6 separate regions of the Homo sapiens genome follow, and all the other regions are linked to region 6. Evidence: promoter capture Hi-C in 16 types of primary human blood cells and fetal thymus (Javierre and others, 2016). All regions are on one chromosome and are shown on one strand. Each heading gives the region's core, a stretch centred on a gene start or on the middle of the fragment in contact. The rest is flanking DNA. Distances are from core to core; before and after follow the strand shown.

Region 1 (3,640 bases), core at 448-2,947, 1.4 Mb before region 6:
TTCAGTTGATTGTAAAATGAAAGATTAATTGGTTTATTTATGGTAAATTAATCTGGTCTTCAAATTCTTCCCTATATTTTTCTGTGTTTTGATGTTCATCTGCAGTGGGAAGGAGAAGGGTGGGAAAAGTTGTCTTGCTTGTGTGGTTTACAGATAGACATAATAATTTCCAGGGAAAAGTGCATGGTATTATTTATCTCAGGAATAGGATTAAAAAAGGAATGTGCCTAGATCAGGCGTTCAGTGTACCTTATGGTCATATTTTACCCTGAAGTTAAATAGTCTTAAAGTACTATTCAGAGTGGGAGAAGCGGTATGTATTCCTGAAGAGTCTTCATGGTCCTGGGCATTGTGCTATGGGTAACTCTTAACTCTTCACTCTTAAGCAGCTGAAATCTAGCCATGTTTACCTTGAGGTAAGTGAACGCTGTTCCGAGTATTGGTTTATCATGAGGGAGCACCATTTTGTGAATAGTTTGGGAGGACAACTGAAGGATTGTCTTTTTTGCATGTTTGTTTTTGAAGGCCTATCTCCCATTTTGTTAATTCAGTTAATAATTGTTCCTTTTCTGAGGCTCTCTAAGCTTCCAAAACAGGAATCTGCTACATTTTACTAAAGGGCCTTACTATTGTTCATTCAGTTAATAATTGTTCTTTTCGGAGGCTAAGCTTCCAAATGAGGAATCTGCTGCATTTTACTAAAGTGCCTTGCTAAGTGGTAACTGTGGTGGCAAAATGATGTATATGCTCTCAATTATATATACCTGGCACACTTGAACTACCATGTTAGGAATATATTAAGGTTGCCATTAATAAAAATTTCTAACCTTTGAAGTAGAATTGAAATTTAATTTTATTTACTCCATGTGCACATTTTCCTCGTTTAGTCAGTTACTTAGATTCATTGAGGAGAGATGTATTTGATAATGTTCTCACGTTAAACATAAAAAAAAAGTAAATTTGAAATCTAGCTTATAGATTTGGACTTTATTAACTCAGTCAAAACATAAAATGAATTGCTGGAATTCACATGGTGGGAAAAGTATCTTAGAAATAAGATAGTAGGCATTTGGGAGCGAGATAAAGAAATATTAAAATTTTCATGTAGATTTGGCTCATGTTGGCCTTTAATGATAAATGCCAATTTCCTTCTATTTGAGTCAGCAAATTTTAGAACATTTTATGAATATTAAGGTTCTTCACATATCAGGCACTATAGGAATAAATGGATAGTTAAAATATGTGTCTGAGTTAATACAGAATTGTTTCTCCTGCCTTTTTGTTTTTTCTTTCTTTTTTTTTTTTTATTTTTTATTTTAAAGACAGAGTCTTGCTATGTCACCCATGCTGGAGTGAAATGGCATGATCTCAGCTCACTGCACCCTCCACCTCCCAGGTTCAAGCAATTCAGCCTCAGTGTCCCGAGTAGCTGGGATTGCAGGCACCCACCACCATGCCCGGCTAATTTTTTGTATTTTTAGTAGAGATGGGTTTTGCCATGTTGGCCAGGCTGGTCTCGAACTCCTGACCTCAGGTGATCCACCCACCTCTGCCTCCCAAAGTGCTGGGATTAGAGGCGTGAGCCACCACGCCTGGCCTCTCCTGCTTTTTCTAAGTTGACCAGCTGAACCATTGATAGATCTGTTTGTCATACTCTCAGATGAATAGGTAGTCTTGTAGCTTGGCTTAAAAAATTATCCTCATGTGTTCCATTGTACCCTGATTAGACCTCACCCACACTTAAAGGGATTTTGGTTCTAGTTCTTTAGCAATGGGATAAATTTTTTGGACAGCTAGATACTCTTTGACTTTTAAAGTGATGTTATTTTCAGTTATCCTGGCTTGGTGTTTCTGAAGTTTGAATGAATTGTTCCACCATTTGAAAAGAAGTGATCAGGCCGGGCGCGGTGGCTCACGCCTGTAATACCAGCACTTTGGGAGGCCAAGGCGGGCGGATCACGAGGTCAGGAGATGAAGACCACCCTGGCTAACACGGTGAAACCCTGTCTCTACTAAAAATACAAAAAAATTAGCCGGGCCTAGTGGCGGGCGCCTGTACCCCCAGCTATTCGGGAGCCTGAGGCAGGAGAATGGCGTGAACCCAAAGTGGAGCTTGCAGTGAGCCGAGATCCTGCCACTGCACTTCAGCCTGGGCAACAGAGTGAGACTCCGTCTCAAAAAAGAAAAAAGAAATAAGTGAACAAAGAATTAGCTCCTTTCATTTTTAAGGATGTGAAGACATTAAGGAAGATTTAAATGAAGAAAGGCATATGAAAATACCCAGCTCCGTATCAACTTATAATTAAAAAGCAGTAACTACCATTTTTTGAGCTCATTGTACTGTGCAATGTGCTAAACACATTCCAGTATTTGATTTAATTCTCTTAATAACCCTGCAGAGCAGGTAATAGGAATTCCATTCAACACATGAGGAATTTCAGAGAAGCCAAGTAGCAGGCCTAAGGTCACACAGCTTCCAAATGGTGATGTTGGGATTTGAATTCGATCTGTGTGAAAAGTCTGTGCAAGCAAAACTACTCTTTACAGTAGGCTCCAGTCACTATATCAGTCACTTCATTTGCATTTATTTGAAGACTGTTAAGACTGATTTTCCCATTTGTTTGTTAACAAATAACATTTTCTATTTGTAATGGGCCTGTGGATGACTTTTGCCCCTTTATATGTTGGGATTGTTTCTGATTATCATATGCTTGCACAAGCTTCTCATATATTAATCATGTATTGAACCTTTCTCTTCCTCTGAATATACTTAAGGCAGCAAGTGACATTCATCTCCCATACCTACAAAATTTTATACTTGGATATGCTTTAATTTCTCATTTTCTGCATGGGTCCTTTACATTGTCATTTTTCTTCAGGTCTGTTCTATAAAATGTATTCAGACTTTTATTCAGAGATATCTCCTTATTCTGGGGCTTTTTGCATTAAGAAACAGTATAATGTCATCTAACTCTTAAGAACTACATTGTATTAATGTGCAGATTGAATAGCTGTTAACTCTTAGGTTTTACATTGGGGTAGTAGATCAGAAGTTCTTAAGAAATAATTGCTTCTATTTAAAAAAAAAAAAACCACACACACACACACAAAACCTTTTATACAGTTAATTTTTTTTTTCCTTGTGAGACAAGGTCTTGCTCTTTTGCCCAGGCTAGAGTGCAGTGGTGTGATCTCAGCTTGCTGCAACCTCTATCTCCCAGGTTCAAGTGATCCTCCCACCTGAGCCTCCTGAATAGTTGGGGCTACAGGCATGTGCCACCATGCCTGGCTAGTTTTATATTTTTTGTAGAGACAGGGTTTCACCATGTTGTCCAGGCTAGTCTCAAACTCCTGGGCTCAAGTGATCCTCCTGCCTCAGCCTCTCAAAATGCTAGGATTACAGGCATGAGCCACCATACCCAGCTAAATATTCTTAATCATTTTTATTTAAAATGTAAAAAATTATGTGTTCATTTCTACTGGATTACTTTAGGATTGAAATAAACTAGTTCATCAGACTTAGAACCTGGTCACCTTTGATTGCCATACTCTTTCAAGCAGTTGGATAGATACCAAGAAAGAATTGATGGTGCTGTTAAATATATCCAGTATCTCTCTTCTCCCAGCAAAGTGCCTGCAT
Region 2 (3,757 bases), core at 54-2,553, 1.4 Mb before region 6:
TGATGTTTTGTGAGATTGTAAAAACAAGAAGAGAGATGAAAGTATACTCTTGTTTCTTACATTTTATGTGAAACAGTTTAATTCCATTTAACCCTTTTCCCATTTGCCCCAAGAATACTTGCTGGCAGCACTTGTAGCTACAGAGTTTACCGTGAGATACCTTTGCCACAAAATATCTCACTTTTATAATTATTGTTGCATTGCTCTAGTAATATTGACTCCCGAAACAAAAGACATCATTCTATTTATAGCATTCTGTTTTTAGTAGTGGTATTTCCATTTATAAAATATAGTAATTCTCAATCACTGAAAATGTCAAATCCTAGAATACATAGCATTCCTATGAGTGATGTTAACATTGTTCTTGAACAGTTGTTGGCCAAAAATTTGATAAATCCAATTTTTCTGAAATAGATGATTCTAATGATTCACACAATTCTGATGTTAGTTCTATTTAGAAATAACTCCAAGAACAGTTTTTATATTTTATTTTCACATTGGAAATCAGATTTGCTTCATCCTCAAAAAGCATGTTTATGTAAAATTAAATGAGTGCTGGCAGTGAGCTGCACCTTTTTTTTTTTTTCTAAGAAAAGGGTTAATGGTAGACTGTGGTAAGTTACAGATACATCTTATAAGCTCTACAGTAAACATAAAAAAATTGGTAGATTTAACCCAACCATTTTATAACTATATTAAATATAAATGGCCTAACATTCTACTTAAAAGGTCCAGTATCAGACTGGATTAAAAAGCAAGGTCCAACTATATGTTGTGTACAAATTACTATCACTACAATGACAAAAAGGTTAAAAGGAATAACAAGATACCTACTACGCAAACACAAATCATAAGAAAGCTGAAACTCTACATTAATATCAGGCAAAATAGGCTTCAGAACAAGGAATATTATCAAGGATAAAGGGAAGTATGCCACAACTATAATGAGGATAATTCATCAAGAAAACATAAAAGTCCTACAGGTGTAGGGATCTACTAACAAAACCTCAAAATACACAAAGCAAGAACAAACTAGATTATAAGTTTCAATAAATTTGAAATGATTAAAATCATACAGGGTATATTCTTGGACTGTAAGCAAATTAAACTGAAACTTTAAAATGTGGAGAATATTGAAATATTTGGTAATTAATATACTTCCAAATAGTCCAAAGTTAAAAAAAAATTAGAAAATACTTTGAACTGAATGACAATGAAAACATAAAAATATAAATGCAGCTAAACCAGAACTTAGAGATGAATTTATATGTTTAAATGCTTATATTTGAGAAGAAAGTCTAAAAGCAATGATATGGGCTTCTATCTTAAAGCTAAAAATAGAAAAAATTAAACCAAAACTAACTAGGCAGAGGTAAGTAATAAAAGGTAAAAATCAATCAAACTGAAAATAAGTAGAGAAAAATCAAAGAACGGGGTAAAAACATCTATCCAATTGGTAAACTTTCTCTACATGGGCTGGTGGGAAAAAAAAGATCAATAAACTGATTTCACCACTTACAGCAACAGTATTAGAGTTCTTAACCAGTGCCATAAAGGAAAAGAATAAAAATCATAAAGATTGGAAAAAAACATGAAACTGTCTTTACTCAGAGACTGTTATATAGAAAATCTTATAAAACACACAAAACCACTCTTGTAACAAGTAAGTCCAGCAAGGGGAATAAACAAGAATCAAGTCTATCTTTACATATTATCAATACTTGAGGAATTTTTAAAAATTACAATTTTTTTTAAAAAACCACAAAATACTTAAGGATAAAGCAAAATATTTGCAAAGCCTATACCCTGTAAGCTACAAAATGCTGCCAAGAGCTGAGAAACATTGAAGATCTAAATAAATGAAGAGATATACCATTTATAAAGATTCAATATTAAGATGTCAATTCTTCCCAATTGTTCTATAGATTGAATGAAAAGTCCCATAAAAATTCCACCAGGGTTCTTTTTTAAACAAATTAATGAAATGAAATCCTAGAAGAGCCAAAACAATTTTGAAAATGTAGAAACTGGAGGAAATAAACCACCCGATTTCAAGACTTACTATATAGCTATAGTAATCAAAGCAGTGTGGTATTACATAAACATATTGACCAATGGAACAGAACACTCTCCTGAAACAGACCCGCATACACACAGTCAACTGATTTTCAACAAATGAGTAAAGGAAATGTCTTTTTAATAATGGGGGCTACAATTGGATATACATATGCAAAAAAAAAAATCAAACTTGATTCTTACCTCACATATACACCAAAACTTATTTGAAATGGCTCACAGACCTAAATGTAAGAGCCAAAACTTTAAAACTTGCAGAAGAAAACATAGTAAAATAAGAATCTTTGTGCCTCTGGCTTAGGCAAAGATTTCTCAGGAAGTACACAGAAAGCATGAACCATAAAACAAAATGAGAAACTAGACTTCATCAGAACTTAAAATTTCTGCTGTTTGAAATATACCACCAAGATGAAAAGGCAAGCAGCTGACTGGGAGGAAATACTCATAACACAAACATCTGAGAAAGGACTTATATGTAGGATATTCAAATAACTCTTCCAACTCAAAAACAGAAAAAGAACAATTTGAAAATGGGCAAGAGTTGAATAGTTACTTGACAAAACATGTACAAATGACCAATAAGTACATGAAAAAGTGCTCAACATCATTAGTTTTCAGAGAACTGCAAATTTAACTACAATGAGATACCACATTTCCACTAGAGTGGCTAAAATGTGTTGATGAGGATGTGGAGTAACTGGACTCTCATGCATTGCTGCTGGGAATGCAAAATGGTACCACCACTTTGTAAATTGTTGGCCACTTCTCCCAAACATACACTTACCTTATAATCCAACAGAAATGAAAACATATATCCACAGGAAGACTTCTATACATCTAGTCATGGCAACTTTATCATGACCAAAAACTGTATAGCACTGAAAAATCCATCACTAGGTAAACGGATAAAAAATTTCTGGTATATCCACACAAAGGAATACCACTGAGCAATGAAAAGGTCTGAATGACACACATTCAGGAATCTCAGAACCATTATGCTAGAAGATACAAAAAGGACTATATGATAAATGATATGAAACTCTACAGAAGTCTGAGTATACCTTTAACAAAACCCTACAGCTGTACACTTCAAATAGGTGCATTTTATATGTAAGTTATAGCTTGGTAAAGTTAACATTTTCTGCATATTAGAGGACATAAGATTTCTCCTCTTTAAAATAGGGACAATAATATCTACATCATATGTTGTTGTGATGCGTAAATGAGTTAGGATTAATTCATATGAAACACTTAAGGCTTGTCTGGCATATAATAAAAAAATGTTAGCAGGATAACTACACAACAAAGTCACTATAACCAGTGGTTCTCAACTTAGGGCAATTGTGCCCCCCAGGAGAAACTAGGCAATGTCTGGAAACACTGCTGACTGTCATGACTGGAGGGGTACTACCGGCACCTGGCCAATAGAGGCCAGGGATGTTGCTGAACATCCCTACAAGGCATAGAACAGCCTACACAGCAAAGAATAATCTGACCCAAAATGTCAATACAACAGAGGTTCAGAAACCCATTTATTAAAGAAAATAAGTGACAGAACAATCCACAGATGGAAAAGAAATATTCCAAGTGCATATAATCAACATGGAATTCAAATCCAGAATGTGTAGGTGTGTGTGTGTGTTGGTGGTGGTGCAAAAGTAATTGCATTTTTGGACCATTA
Region 3 (3,418 bases), core at 271-2,770, 1.4 Mb before region 6:
AAAAATGTGTTACTTATCACTAGGGTGTGTGATCCAAAAACTCTTTATTATGTGTGCATAATAAAAACATGAGAATTGTGACCCAGCTCCTAACTCAAGATGAATGCATGTGATAGTAGCTTTCCTGAACTTAGGGAGAAAGCACCTCAAATACACGTTTTGTGGTAGCAGTGATTTTGCTTATGCTTAAGAAATTTCTGTTTGCCAAACGCCTGTCTCATCTTGCCTTTACTGTGAAACAGACTGTTGTCAAGGTCTTTTGTAGTAAGTTAGAGATTTTTCCCCCATCTTCAAAGAAGATATAAATAAATGTAGGCATGTTTTCTATTAAAAAGAAATGTGAAAATGTTTCCTACATTATTCCACTGCCTTACATGGTCACACACTTTCAGATCATTTCCAGTAGTAGATTTAGAGAATGTCCACTATATTCGAAGGCATGGTTGGATAGTGCCCTCTTGTGGGAAAACAACATATTGCTTATGTCGTGCTTGCTTAAACATTAGCAAGGATTTTAAAATTTTATTAACTGGGTGCAGTGGCTCACGCCTGTAATCCCAGCAGTTTGGGAGGCTGAGGCAGGCAGATCACCTAAGTTGGGAGTTCGAGACCAGCCTGACCAACATGGAGAAACCCCCTCTCTACTAAAAATACAAAATTAGCTGGGCATGGTGGCATGTGCCTGTAATCCCAGCTACTCGGGAAGCTGAGGCAGAAGAATCGCTTGAACCTGGGAGGCGGAGGTTGTAGTGAGCCGAGATCGTGCCATTGCACTGTAGCCTGGGCAACAAGAGCGAAACTCCATCTCAAAAAAAAAAAAATCGGTGTGTACAAGCATGTTTTGTACAAAATGCTTTTTCACTAGAAACCATTATTAATTTAAGGTTTATTCCTAATTTCTTCCATGTTTTAAAAGTAAAAAGGCGGGGAGGGTAATGGAGGTGATGGGGGTGTGAATAGGATTTGCTCTAGTTCCTTGGGTGGGGGATAAAATTCTCTGAGAGTCAGAAAATGTTTTTGAGCAGCTCATGGCAGATATTTGTAAAGAAATAAGCATAAACAGCTCCAAGTCAAGTTTTTACAGTGCATTTCTTATAAAAGCCCCTTTTCAGCCATGTAAACTCTTTTTTAAGGAAGGCTCCCTAGGCTGAGAGGGAGCAAGCGTCCCTTCAGGTACTTGAGTCTAATCAAATGGTAGAATGTAAATCACATTTTTTCAATAAAGGATCATGGTTGGCTTTGGTGTCAGACAGGGCAGCATCTGAGTCCTGGCTCTTCTGCTCAGTGATGGTGGACTCTGGCAAAGAATTTCACTTCCCTGCCCCTAGTGGTGGTGATAGTCCAGTACCTTTATTTCAAGTTTTTGAGCATTAACTGGGAGAATGTGGGGGCCTGACACATAAGTGTGTGCTTCAAAATGGTAGCAGGAATGATGTTGCTTATTGGATTTTGTTCTTACTTTAAAAAAATGTTTAATTTTTTTCATATTTTAACTTTTTCATGTTGAATATTTGTTAACTTAATGCTAATGGACTAAATGGAATCTTGGGACTTAGAAGCTAAAGGCCAAATCATGGACTAACATTCAGAGTGAGAGAGGGCTCACTCTGAATTTTTACTAGGGTGTTTTCCCCCATTTCAGTTTAAGGAAATTGATATAATATGTTCAGTGATTTACTGTCATTTAAGGAAACATGCCTTTTTGTAAATAAAACTTTTCTAAATGTATCACTTACATTTCAGGTATATGCAGTATAATTTTAAAATATGTAATGTTTAACAAACACCTTTATGGAATTAACTTGTTAAAACTCATTTCATTGGTAGTAGAGTTTGAAATATCTTCATTTTTAAGTGTTATAATATATAAACATATACTAGTAATAAATACAATATTACAATAATAAATATATTCTATATTTGTGCATGAACTGCCCAAAGCAGGAACCCACCTCCCCCTGAGGAGAGTGCTGGGGTGTAGCCCATGGGCAGCTGCTTAAGGCAGCTCACTAGCCCCAGTAGCTCTGGGCTATACAGGAATCTCAAGAGCTTGCTCCATTGGGCCTCACTTTCTCATCTTATCCTGGAGCACAGCTATTTGGTTTCCTTGCTGTGTTGTAGGATATGGAGTGTATCACATAGCCATCTGTTTGTAACCTTTTCTTGGGGCTGAAATTCTGATTTCTTTCTCTTTCTCTATTAATTTGTATCCTTCCAAAGGCTTTAGGAGTCTGCCTCCATAAACATGACAGTGTTGGGGATAAGGATAAGATCAGAAAGAATGGAATGAACGATTAGTTTAGTTGTGCTCTAGCCTAGCAGTGCTCCCACCACCCACATGCCAGGCTCACCCCCACCATCTCAGGACTCTATGGAGGGTCTCTTTGAGATCAGAAAGATTACCAAAAAAAAAAAGTGTTATGTTCAGGGGTGTAGATTTGACTGCATTTCTCAGTTCTCAATACAGTTGTTTAAAATTCAGCTTTTAGGATTCATTGGTGGAAAGCCAGTAAGGTTTAATGAGAGGACTGAATTATAGAATATTTTTTAATGCAGTTTTGTCCCTCTGAGGTACATTCAGTAACAGAAACTAGGCCAACAAGTTATTGACAATTAGTGGTCCTTTGGGAATCTGCTTTAATGAATAGATAAGAATGATTTGTAATTAGCATAATAATTATATGCAAATGAATGCTTCTGAATTGCTCTAAAACACTTCTGAACTGTTTAAACAGCCCTCCTGAGATCTTGTTACTCTATTAATTTGTGTAGCAAATCTTTTTTTCATAGATCATGCAAAGATAAACTTCAGCCCAGCCCCTGTCTGAATGATTATGTATTCCAAGGTAGTAGGACCTGAATTAATGAGATTTACTTATACTATATTAATGGTACTCTGTGGGAACCTGAAAGGTTGAGGAGTCACTGGGGAGATGTAATTAAAAATAGAAAAGAAAGCTGCTTATTTGAAAATAACTGTTGAAATCAGTTTCTTAAACAAGTTAGTAAATGTTATTTCTCTTTACACCTCTGTTATTTGCTTTTGCAAAATTTAATGTAAACTTTTTTTTAATGGGCTTACTTACTCTTTGGAGTCTCGCTTGAATTTTGTCAGCTTGAGTTAGTTATTCGTTTGGCATTAGGGTCAACAGTGATAGGATCCAGGAACTCATTTAGGTGCCACAATACTGGAAAATTCAGGGCAGTGCTAATAAATGATGTTTGTTATTTATCTTCATATTTAATTCAGCTTTATTCCCCATCCTGGGCTTTATTTTTAGGATGTGATTAGAGGAAATAAGCCTTGCTAAGTTGAACTGCAATACCCATGCATTTAAAACTTAATGATTATCTTTGAGCTATTTTAATAGACACCTAATTAATCATTGTATGCTAAAGGAAAGCATTTTATATAACA
Region 4 (3,852 bases), core at 380-2,879, 1.4 Mb after region 6:
TTTCAGAAATGAGCTAGAGAATTCAAAGGAATTGCCCCAAGAAGCAAATCAGGAAGGCAGCGGGGCCTCGCTTTGCAGATGAGGAAGCTGAAGTTTGGGAAGCTGAAATGGACTTCCCAAGGCCACGGGGCTTCCTCAGAATCCAGGTCCACATTCCCAAGCTTCCTTGAGAGGTCAAGCAAGAGTTTCCAGTTTAGAAGTGCAGACACCTGGGCTAATCTAAGATCCCGGTCTTGTTAACACGTGTGCCAGGCTGTCTTCAGTGACTCAGAGAGACAGAGAAATTGTGGGTAATTTGCAAAACCAGCGGTGGGCCTATGTGGCTCCTCACTCCCCCAGGACCTGGTCACCCACAGAAAGCAGCGGACAAATGAAAATCTCTCTCATTATCACATCTAGGAAAGACTTTCTAAACTGCCTCATCCTACCTCTTCATGGTCCAGATGGGGAAACCAAGGCCCAGAGAGGAAAAGACTTGCCCAAGGTCACTAGAGAGGTGGGACACAGCCAGGTGAGGAGCTGTGACTCTGTCACTCCACAAAGCTGCCCCTAGGAGGCTGAGGGCATTACTGCCCAGCCTCTACTGGCCAGGATGAGCTTAGGCCAGTACCTGGAATGTACCATGGGCATGCCATGGGCTCTTGCTCTTTCTGACATCCACCCCAGCCCTTTGCACATGCTGTTCCCTCTGCCTGGCACACACTTCCCTGGACCCCTACCCTAGCATCAACTGCCAGCTCCTAGGCATCCTCCAGCACTCAGCTTCCTTGGGGAGGCTCTCCTGGCCCCTGCACCCCAACGAGACCATATCCCTTGAGGCACTGTGCACCACCCCCATCCTAACACATACATGGTCCTTGTTTCAGTTCCTTGAGCAAAGTCCAAATTCTCACCAGACTAAGTTCCATGCGGTCAGGGGACCATGCCGTCTTGCTCCTATATTCCAAGTATCTGGCGCTAGCTCCAAACTACTGCTGGTAAGTGTGTGCTGAATGAACATGAGATCGTAGCCATTTGTCAATGAGTTCAACACCTATGCCAAGCTCTAAGTTCTGGGGACCGTGGACTGTATCTTAGTCATCTCTGCATCTCCAGCATGGAGCCCAGAGCCCAACACGCAGCCAGGCACATCAAGGTTATCCAGACCTTGCAAACCACACAATTCAAAAATACGATTATTGGAGACTTCTTTTCTTCTTTGTGCCTGTCTGAATTTTCCATATCTTTTTACCATGCACATGCATTATTTTTGTAATTAAAACATCAATCAATCAATCAATCAATGTTGCCTTACATTTATTATATAAGAATGTTCATAGGCCAATGATTGAACAATATGGACTGGGGGGATCTCCTGTTTCCCCACTGCTCTGGGGGGCTCAGGAGGGAGGTGAGACACTCTGGGACTGGCGGCTAAAAGGCAATGTTTCCTAAAGTTGTATTTTTAGGAGCGCTGGAAAATTCTCTGGGCAAGAAGGCATCTGAAGTATTTGCAAACACTCAGCAATGGGAAAGATAATATTTCCTAAGACTTTCCCTTTTGGGTGTGCTGAAACCAGTGGCAAATATTCTGGAAAACTCTGAGACCAGCCCATGACAATTCTTCGGTAAGTCCCTCTATTCCCAGAGCCCTGATGGATGTCACACAACCCAGAATCACCTACACCCACTCCTTATTTCACAGAGGAGGAAACAGAAACCCAGAGAGGAGAAGTAACTTGCCCAGGCACAGAAAACAGACCAGTTGCGAAGTCAAAGTGAGACCTGAAAGCATTTTATACCTCACAAAGCACTTCTGCACAGCTTCCCTGACTTTGGCATTTCATCAGAAAATGTTCTGGTTTTTTTCCTCTGTTATCCAGAGGAGACAGCACAGTGTGAGTGTTAGTGGGGAAGGGGTCCCAACTTCTTCTATCACTGTGTAGGTTCAGGAAAAGGAAAGCAAAATCTATTATTTTCATCCCATAGAAGACAGACATTCTTACACACACAGAGGCAAGAGGGATGTAATTTCAGAATAAAGAATAGTCCTTTAAATCAAATAAATGTTGCTTTCTGAAAAACTCACTGAAGTGGTTCTCGTTCTTCCTGTTTTCTTGAGGACTGGAGGAAAGCCCACATCGGATCCAGGATCTTCATTCCTGTTCAGGAGTCTCAGCTCTTCCTACAAACCTGTGCTACCTCCCAAACCAAGCCCGTTTCCTTTTTCCCCAACATTCTCTCTTCCTTGTAACCTCCACCATTTCTTAAAGAAAACAGAGACATTGCTAACCAGACACAGCCAAAAAGCAAAGTTGACAGGAAGCAGGAGGAGAGGGAAAGGACGTGACCCCGTCCTGGAGCCTGCACTGCCCCCCGCCACTCACCCAGAGGTAGCGCAAGAGCTTCAGCAGGCTGGGGCAGTAGTAATACTCCATTTCCAGCACCCAGAGGTTATGTGGTGAGCACAGTACGGTTTCCAGCTTTCCTCTAGCGGGAGCGGCTCTTCTCACTCCTGTCACGCTGGAGTCAAGTTCAAGGCGGCATAAATCATTCAGAAGCCGGCTCACGGCCAGGGGACCAGCCAGTCGGCTCCACTAATGGCCACGGCTGCCTGGGGAACTGAGAAGCCACCACTCGGTCCTATGAGCCCCGCCCGGGGCATCTCTGGCTTCTCGTCCAGTGGGGCGGGTCCAGGGGTGGATCCTTCTGAACCCAGCTGCCTGGACCCTCACCCTCCCGGGAGCCGTAGGCACGGAGGGTTTTAGGGTTTTCAGTTGTACGGCAAGAAGGCAAGAAGAGAGAAGGTGATGCCCGGGAACTGAATGTGTGCACGCGTGTGTGTGTGTGTTTATGCATGAAGGAGTGTGTGTGTACATGCTTTTACGTGGAGTCAAGTATGTGTGCATGTGTGCATACGAGTGTGTTTTGTGCATGTGTGGACTGACTGTGTGCTGTGCGTGTGAGCCCAAATGTATGTGGTTCCTCCTCCCCAAACCACATGAGGAGAAGGAGGCCCTGCCACTCGTTACAGGGAAGGAAATCAACTCAGGATCCCATTGGTTTACCGGGCTCCTTTGATGTCAGTCATGTTCCTTTTAAACTCAGCTAAGCTTCTGATCCCCCCAGAAGGAGGGTGTGGCCATCCCCATTTTACAGAGAGGAAAACCGAGGCCCAGAGAAGTCAAGGGACTTGGCCAAGGTCACGCGGTGAGTTGGTAGCTAAAGCAAGGCTGGAACCCAGGCCTCCCAGCCATGATTCCTGGGCCCGTCCACTCCTGTGGACACCCAGCCCAGCATGGGGAGTGGGGTGCTGGCAAAGGGAGGGATCAGCTCCCTGAGGCACCAGCTGCCAGCTGCACCAGGTGGGGAGTGAGGAGAATGTCAATTTTCAGAGATTAAAATGCAATAAAAGCACACCTCGGGCAAATCCAAGGCAAACTTTCCCAGATGTTTCCTTCAAAAGAGCATGATTTTAGCAAGTCACCTCATCCTCCTGAGCCTCAGTTACCCCTTCTGTAAAATGCGACAAATTATCCCTGTGTTCAGGGCTTTGAGGATTCAACAAGGTAGAATCCTGCCAAACCATCTAGTTTAGTTTTCATGGTCATATCATGAGGGCAGTATCATCACTTCTACTGTCCAGATGAGGAAACCAAAACTCACAGGGTCAAAAGAGGTTCCTGAGGTGAGCAGCAGCTAAACAGTGAGACAGGGATTCAAATACAAGCCAGACGCTCCTGGATCCCCTACTCAACACCTGCTCCTCATAAGCCGAGGCCATAACCCAGAGACTCCGGCAAGTGAGCGCCGGATGCAAGACAGCTGTGCTTCTGAGGCAAGGTCCTTCTCACTGCTGAGAGGGGAAAACTG
Region 5 (3,463 bases), core at 600-3,099, 1.1 Mb after region 6:
GCCTGACTGAGGAGCCGAAGAGGTAAGAGAGTAAAGCCATGTGGCTAAGTGGGGTGAAAGAGTTGAAGCAGAAAAGGTGGGAGGATCACCAGGCATGATGGTCCCTGTCTGTAGTCCTAAGTACTAGAGCCGGGCACAGCGGCTCATGCCTGTCATCCCAGTACTTTGGGAGGCCAAGGCGGGTGGATCACCTGAGGTCACGAGTTGAAGACCAGCCAGACCAACATGGTGAAACCCTGTCTCTACTAAAATTACAAAAATGAGCCAGGCGCGGTGGCGCATGCCTGTAATCCCAGCTACTTGGGAGGCTGAGTCAGGAGAATCGCTTGGACCTGGGAGGCAGAGGTTGCAGTGAGCCAAGATTGTGGCATTGCACTCCAGCCTCTCCAGCCTGGGCAACAGAGTGAGATTCCATCTCAAACAAAACAAAACAACGAAAACTAACTACTGGAGAGGCTGAGGTGGGAGGATTGCATGAGCTCAGGAGTTCGAGGTTGCAGTGAGCTATGATCACACCACTACACTCCAGCCTGGGTGACAGAGCGAGACCCTGTCTCAAAAAAAAAAAAAAAAAAAAAAAACTTGTAGCAGAGAACAGCAAGTGCAAAGGCCCTGAGGCAGGAGTGTGCCTAGTGTGTTTGAGAACCCACAGGGATGCCACTGTGGCTGTAGCAGGGTGAGATGTGGGAAGGGAGAGTGGCTAAGGAGGCTGAGAGGTCAGGGAATAAGTGTGGCTGGAGCCGGCCCTGAAGGTGCCCGAGACCCTTGTTTCTCTCCTGAGATGGCGGCCCTCACAAACCCTGGAGCTTCCCTGGCTGCCATGAGGTCAGGCGGAAGGGGGTCGAGGTAGAGGTGGACACAGGGTGCAAGAAGGGAAAGGATTTTTGCTGCTTAAATCCTAGCCTGTCTTCCCATTGCTGGTGGGGTACATTATCAATTCCTCTTCCCTGCCTGAGGTCTGACATGTGCTGGCCCCAGCTGGCCTCTTCCTTCCCCCAGCTCCACCTTCCACCCCTCAGCTCCAGCTCGTGGCCTGATGTGGTTCCTCCTCCCAGTCCATTGACCACGCTGGCCCCTGCCGCAGGGCCTCCTCTATTGATGTGTGCTCTTCCTGAACTGCCCTTCTGCCGGACAGCTGCTCCTTGGTGGCAGCTCAAGTGTCCTTCCTTCCCTAAGCCAGAGTTTCCCAACACTGCAGCCCAACACCCTTCATTTTTCATGACATTCTTCATGTTCTGTCAATGGGCCTTTTGTTGTTTTAATTTTGTCTTCTTGTTTTTGTCGGTCTCCCTTCCTAGAATTTAAACCCCATGAGGGCAGAGGCGTTCAGCCTCACGCCAGCCTGGCAAATTTGTCACAAATCTGGAGGAACGCACACGTTCGCGGGCACCCAGTTCTGTGAGGTATTGCAAGCCCTCTCTGAACCTGCAAGGTGGCCATTGCTGTTCCCACTTTACAAGGGAGGAAGGAGTGCCCGGAGAGGTTCTATTTAGACCCGCCAAGGGCACAGTCGTTCTAGAAAGTAGCAGATCGGGAGTTTGAACTTGGGCTTGCTGGTTCCAGAGCCCCTTCTGTGCCCCTTCCAGGCTGTGCCTGGGTGAGATTCTTCCCCTTCGAGCACCTCTTCTTCCTCGAGGGTTCAGTGGCTGAGCTGACACCGGTGGGCAAGAGGCCTTGGCCTGCTTGTTGAAGGACTCAAAGGTGGCGTCTGGAAGCCTGGCGGGACTTTTCCCCTGTCAGCCTAGAGGCACTTTTAGAGGAGCGTGTCTGTTTCGCAGTCTTCGTGTCTCATAATTCATAATTAAGGTAGAGAGTACACATTTAGTTTAAAGTAAAAATTCAAACCCACCTCCACTCCCAGCTGGCCAGCTTCATGCAGTTCTCTCCCTGTCCCCTCCTCTGCCCTCCACAGGTGAGAACAAGTGTCAGGGCCGCACCATGGGACCCCAGGCTTCCTGCCCTGAAACTGCCTCGCTGTGTGCCCTTGGGCAGCCCCGCCCCGTGCCTCAGTTTCCCCACTCATAGAGGCTCCACAGGTAACACACCGGGCTCCTGGCCCAGATCTGCCCCCGGGCCCCGCGGGGCGGAAACCCCGCGCCCCAGCCCCGCGCCGAGCCTCCCGGCGGCGCCCCCAGGGCAGGGCGAGGAGCGCGGGGAGGGGCCGCGGGGACCCGGGCCGCTGGGGCCGTGGGGCCCGCCCGGCCGCCGGCCGGCTCCCTGGGGCGCGGGCGGCTGCGTCAGCGGGGGGCGGAGACGCGGCGCTGCTTCCGCTCACGCGCGCCCTGCTCCCTCCTCCCAGTCGTCCTGGTCCGCGGCGCCCAACGGGGAAGACGAAGATGCAGGGACACGCGCGAGGAGCCGCCGCAGCCGCCGCCGCCGCGCTGTGGAGCCCGAGTGAGCGCGGCGCCAGCCCGTCCGGCCGCTGGACAACATGGAGGCTGCACTGCCCGGGCCGCCGTGGCCGCTGCTGCTGGCGCTGTGCGGCTGCCCGGCCCCCGCCGCAGGTAGGTGGGCGCGGGCCGACCCGGGACCGCGGGCTGCTAGTACAATGGCCCGGGCGGCCCCGCGACCAAGTGCACGGGCGCCACCGCCGCCTTGGAAGCGAGTTGGGGGCGAGTTGGGGCGCGCACCGGGGATCCCCCCGCCGTCCCTGCCCGGGCCATCCCCGGGGACGCCGCGTCCCGGGCCGGTGAGGAGGGCGCGCGGGCGGCGCCGGCCGGTCCTCACCTGCCCGCGCCCGTAGGAAGCCAGGAGCCGAGCCCGCGCTGGGCCCGTGTGGCCCGGGCCGGGCACCAAGTTGGGACTTGGGGCCCGGAGGCGGGCCTGGCCCGGGAAGCCGGTTCGCGACTCTGTTTCCAGCGGCCGCGCGGCCGGCCCGCGTGCTCCGAGGACCGGCTGAGGTTGCAGCGAGAAAGTTCTGAGCCCGGGTGCGGGGCTGCCTGGCCGGTGGCGCTGCCCCTGTGAGCCGTGGCTGTGGGTTTCCAAGCGGACTGACACATGCCAGGTGCCGGGGCGACCCGAATGCCCCTTGTGGCCGCCGGGGTCCCAGATGGTGTCCCTCCCCGGGTCGGCTGCCCGGAGGGGGGCGGGGGGGGTGGTGACATGGTCCCAGAGCGCGGGACAGTAGGGGAGGCAGGTTCGTGCCTCAGTTGTACTCTCCAGTGGGGAGAGAGTAAGGCCGGGCAACTTTGTCTCCAACTTTTGGTGTTTCCCAAGGGGTGGAGTTGAGGTCAGGAGGACTCAGGACACTTAAGCAGTTTGTGAAACGCTACACATGTTCTTTTAATTTGGAGATGGCCATGTGGTTTTTGAAGCAAGCCTCTTGCTGCCTAAATCATTCTCTTCGGATGTGCGTGTTTTGCTTTTCTGGAGTATGGCCAGCCAAGTGGCACGGCCCGCAAGTGCCTGTGCACGCCTGGGCTCCTGTTCTGTTTGTGGCAGTTTAGCTGGGAGGATCTTGGGC
Region 6 (3,448 bases), core at 650-3,149:
TCCTCATCTCTAAAATGGGGATAAAAATCATTCCCAACACGGAGGAGTTTAGAGGCATAAAATGGGTTAACATTCTTAGCCCAGTGTCTGGCACATAGCAGGTACTCAACAAATGGTATTTGTTATTATAAATAGTTTTAAGGGGAAAGTAAAGAGACAAAACCAAGTGTCTGGGCTTTCTTTATTCAAGTCAACTGGTTTTACAGACCCAGAGCAAAAGAAAGTCAACAGTGAATTAAAATGAACTGGATTTAAACTGACAAGCCACAGCCAGAGACAGTGATTATGGGGTTCAGAAAGGAGTACAGAGAATTGAAAGTCGGCCCAGAGGCTGCTGCACGTTTCTCACAGAGGGTAGAGAGTTCTGATGTACACAGGAATGCTTTATGAACTGGTAAATGCGTACACAGATATGCGTGTAAAATGCTGGCTCAATCTCTACTCAGAGCGATGGTGATTGCACCACACTTGGGTGTTGGGAGAAGCAAGGAGCTCCTGGGGAATACTGAAGCAGTTGAGGAGATCGTGACAGTGTCAAGGGATATGAAAAATGCCTTGAGTTTTCCAAACCCCTAGGCACATTCACTCTCACTGGCATCCTCTGAGAGCTTAAAAATAATCGCAGGTGCTTTTTATTCAGGCTGAGCCAAATGGTCAGCAACTTTCTCTTCAGAGGTAAACTCTGGGACATTACTGCCTCTTGACCCTAATTCTAGGGGAGAGGAGCACACAAAATTAATCTAATTTCTCCCCTTGTGACGGCCCTTCGGATGCTGATCTTAAGTGCTAACTAAAGCTGTTATTTATTGAGCCTAAACAAAACTGCGAATAAAGATAATAATACTAAATAACAATAATAAGTAACATTTATTGAGTGTTTCCTCTGTATTAGGCACTCTCTATGTACTTTCTAAGGTACAGAGCAAGGTATGTGAGAATCTGGGCTGGGATAAGCAACAAGCATAATGGAAAGCTGGAAGCACTGGTTTTTGTCACAAAGACCTGGGTTTGAAATCTGGTTCCACACATTTTCTTTGTCTCTTTGAGAATCAGTGAGCTACCAGGGTCCTAGTATGCCTGCAATGTTTAACATAAAGTGTGTAGAATGATTAAGCTAATGTCAGGCACATAGCAGCTGCCTGATGATAGCAGTCACGTGTTCATGTTGCTTCCCTCGTGTCACCACCACCAATAATATCAACATCGGCATAATATTAATAGCAAACACTGGCACAGTGCTTACCACGTGCCAGAAAATGGTTTCCGTTTACTAATTCATTGAATCCTCAAAACAAACCTACGTATGTACTATTTTCATCCCCATCTCACAGATGAGAAAACTGAGGCACAGAGATTATAAATTGTCCAAGGTCACGCAGCTGTAACCGTAATAAAAGGAAAGACGACCTTTAACTGAGCGCTTACTATAATCCACATCTTTAATGAGCTCGTTACCTACGTTAACTCTTCACAATAACTCCTTAAAGGGTGTGCATTATATCTCCACTCTACAGATGGGGAGACTGTGGCTCAGAATTGCCCATGGGCGCAAAGATTCCATCAGGGCCGAGCCTGCACTCACTCAGCCTCCCAGATGCGACGAAGCACGACTCCGCTGTCAGACTCGAACTCCGCCTCGGGGCCCCGGGGCGCCGCCTCTCTCCCCCGGGGCGCCGCCTCTCTCCCCCGGGGCGCCGCCTCCCTCCGCCGCGGCCGTCGAGCCGCGGAGCGCCTCTTCCGCGGAGCCGCCGCCTGCCAGGATTCCAGCGCCGCAGCTGCGGCCGCAGCCATTGGTCTCTGACGTCAGCGGCGTGCGGCGCACTCGGCACGTCATCGCCGCGCGCCGGCTTGCCAGGAGCTGGAGGGGGAGGTAGGCGGGGCGGCGCGTGACCTAAGGCCTCTCTGCCGCGCGCGCAGGTACGGGGCAGAAGTCGCAGGTACCCAGCTGCTGCCCACATTTCTGGTCCAGAGTCCCGAACCCCGAGCACTGGGATGCCTGGCTACTCCGGTGGGTGGGCGGCGCTCGGAGCGCGGGGATACCGAGGGGCGGGCCCCCAGCTTAGAGCGTGACCCGACCCCGCCTAATCCTTAGGCGTTCGCCCACCATTTCCCAGTCCCGTAGAGCTGGGGCCAGACACCGCACAGCCCTAGTGCTGTTACCAGTCGCTGCCTGCGCCCCGGGGGCTGCGCCCAGCAGCTTCCTGGCCCTTTTCCAGCCATTAGCGTCCGTTTTCCAGCCCTGCTGCCCCACTGAGGCCCCTTCCCACAGCAGTATCACCAGCCCCAGCCCCGCGTTGTTACTATTACTTCCCAGGCTACCAGATCCTTTTCTGCTCATGTTCCGACGTCTCTTCCTACTCCAGGGCCATTATTGGTCTCTTCTGGACCTTTCAGAGATAAGAGAGGACCTCGGTAGTGTAGGGCCCAGTCCTCTGGGAACAAGGGATGGGGAGTTTTAGGCTGCTGTCCTTGGTTCCAGTAACAGAGATACCCCCTCCACAGGCACCCAAATATGCTCCATAGAATACAATGAGTGTGGTCCTGTGGAGGCCCAATCCAAAATATCTAGAGCTGAGAAGAGATAGAGATTTTACAGGCCGTCAAATATTCAATGGGGGTCGTCTCTAGAGACTTTTAACAAACTGTATTGTGTACCCACAGATTGCAGAATGGTGAGCAAACATTTGAGACCATGTTGCTAAAGCATTAAGCTTGGAGAAAGTGACAGTAAGAATTAGACAATAGTTTTGAAGTGACCAAGAGGTTGTCACATGGAAGAATTAGACCTTGTTTTGTGTTTTCCTGCAGAGCGTTATCCAGACTAGCGAGTGGGAGGCAGATGTAAAATCTGGAACGCAGATTTTAGTTTGTTGGAAGGAGAAATGTAACATAGTGAACCACGCATCTCTGGAGGGTGTAAAGCAGAGACAGCCAAGGTAATTTTTGGAAAAGAGTGCAGGAGAGTAGAGTAAACGATGCCAGGGTTCCTTCCGACTCTGAAATTCCGTGATACACTGAGCTGTCTTTCTCTTGTGGAAGTTTGAAAGCCATTTGATAAAGTTCTCTTCATTTTTTAGAAATTTGCCCTGCTCTGGAATTCTGCATGTTCAGGTTACTTTTGGACTGTCAAGATGACAGTTCCTTAATTTGGGTTCCATTATTACCACAGCAACTGGTTTATTTGTATAGCTGTCCACACCTAGAGCATTTTCACCCTGTCATTTGATTTTATCTTCCGTGAAGCTTGTGGTGTGTTTCCCTTAACTGTTCGAGAAACTAAAGCCCTTACTCTGAAGTCTCTGCAAGCCTCCCTCTTTGATTTTGAAGCATGATTGTCACCCTCACAGAAAGCTCTTTTGAAATATACCATTCGTTTAATCCTGCTGGGTCACATGCTCTCTCACGAGTTGCTGAAATATCTATTCCTTGTGTTTATTTCAGAGCCAAG

Evidence for each region. Contacts are between HindIII fragments. The CHiCAGO score rates a contact against its expected background, and 5 or more counts as called.
Region 1: a fragment that was not itself captured here is called in contact with the fragment with the promoter of HPS4 in region 6 in 2 of 17 cell types (total CD8 T cells and naive CD8 T cells); the score reaches 6.1 in total CD8 T cells.
Region 2: a fragment that was not itself captured here is called in contact with the fragment with the promoter of HPS4 in region 6 in 3 of 17 cell types (naive CD8 T cells, non-activated CD4 T cells and total CD4 T cells); the score reaches 11.4 in naive CD8 T cells.
Region 3: a contact is called between a fragment that was not itself captured here and the fragment with the promoter of HPS4 in region 6, in 1 of 17 cell types (naive CD8 T cells). The highest score is 6.8, in naive CD8 T cells.
Region 4: a contact is called between a fragment that was not itself captured here and the fragment with the promoter of HPS4 in region 6, in 1 of 17 cell types (fetal thymus). The highest score is 6.2, in fetal thymus.
Region 5: a contact is called between a fragment that was not itself captured here and the fragment with the promoter of HPS4 in region 6, in 2 of 17 cell types (total B cells and erythroblasts). The highest score is 5.6, in total B cells.

Annotation. Positions count from the first base shown.
Region 1 is chr22:27,897,879-27,901,518 of GRCh38, reverse strand. It overlaps PITPNB (phosphatidylinositol transfer protein beta), which reads left to right. Exons shown (of 12, transcript NM_012399.5): 4 at 3,627-3,640. Among named protein-coding and RNA genes, the nearest start is that of PITPNB, 20 kb to the left of the region's middle. The HindIII fragment of the contact is 2,051 bases long and covers 672-2,722 here.
Region 2 is chr22:27,924,785-27,928,541 of GRCh38, reverse strand. The region is part of intron 1 of TTC28-AS1 (TTC28 antisense RNA 1); the gene reads right to left. Among named protein-coding and RNA genes, the nearest start is that of MIR3199-1, 6.1 kb to the right of the region's middle. The HindIII fragment of the contact is 6,881 bases long and covers 1-3,757 here.
Region 3 is chr22:27,878,030-27,881,447 of GRCh38, reverse strand. All of the region lies in intron 7 of PITPNB (phosphatidylinositol transfer protein beta), which reads left to right. Among named protein-coding and RNA genes, the nearest start is that of PITPNB, 40 kb to the left of the region's middle. The HindIII fragment of the contact is 3,859 bases long and covers 1-3,418 here.
Region 4 is chr22:25,068,931-25,072,782 of GRCh38, reverse strand. All of the region lies in intron 6 of KIAA1671, which reads right to left. Among named protein-coding and RNA genes, the nearest start is that of KIAA1671-AS1, 42 kb to the left of the region's middle. RefSeq lists an enhancer at 2,610-3,160. The HindIII fragment of the contact is 2,931 bases long and covers 164-3,094 here.
Region 5 is chr22:25,404,243-25,407,705 of GRCh38, reverse strand. It overlaps the pseudogene LRP5L. Among named protein-coding and RNA genes, the nearest start is that of MIR6817, 50 kb to the left of the region's middle. RefSeq lists silencers at 2,139-2,568, 2,609-2,778, 3,330-3,463. The HindIII fragment of the contact is 6,552 bases long and covers 1-3,463 here.
Region 6 is chr22:26,482,234-26,485,681 of GRCh38, reverse strand. HPS4 (HPS4 biogenesis of lysosomal organelles complex 3 subunit 2) reads left to right here and starts at 1,899. Exons shown (of 14, transcript NM_022081.6): 1 at 1,899-2,008; 2 at 3,442-3,448. SRRD (SRR1 domain containing) reads right to left here and starts at 1,805. Exons shown (of 7, transcript NM_001013694.3): 1 at 1,583-1,805. The coding sequence starts at 1,791. RefSeq lists a silencer at 1,622-1,711 and an enhancer at 1,732-1,851. The HindIII fragment of the contact is 3,757 bases long and covers 1-2,713 here.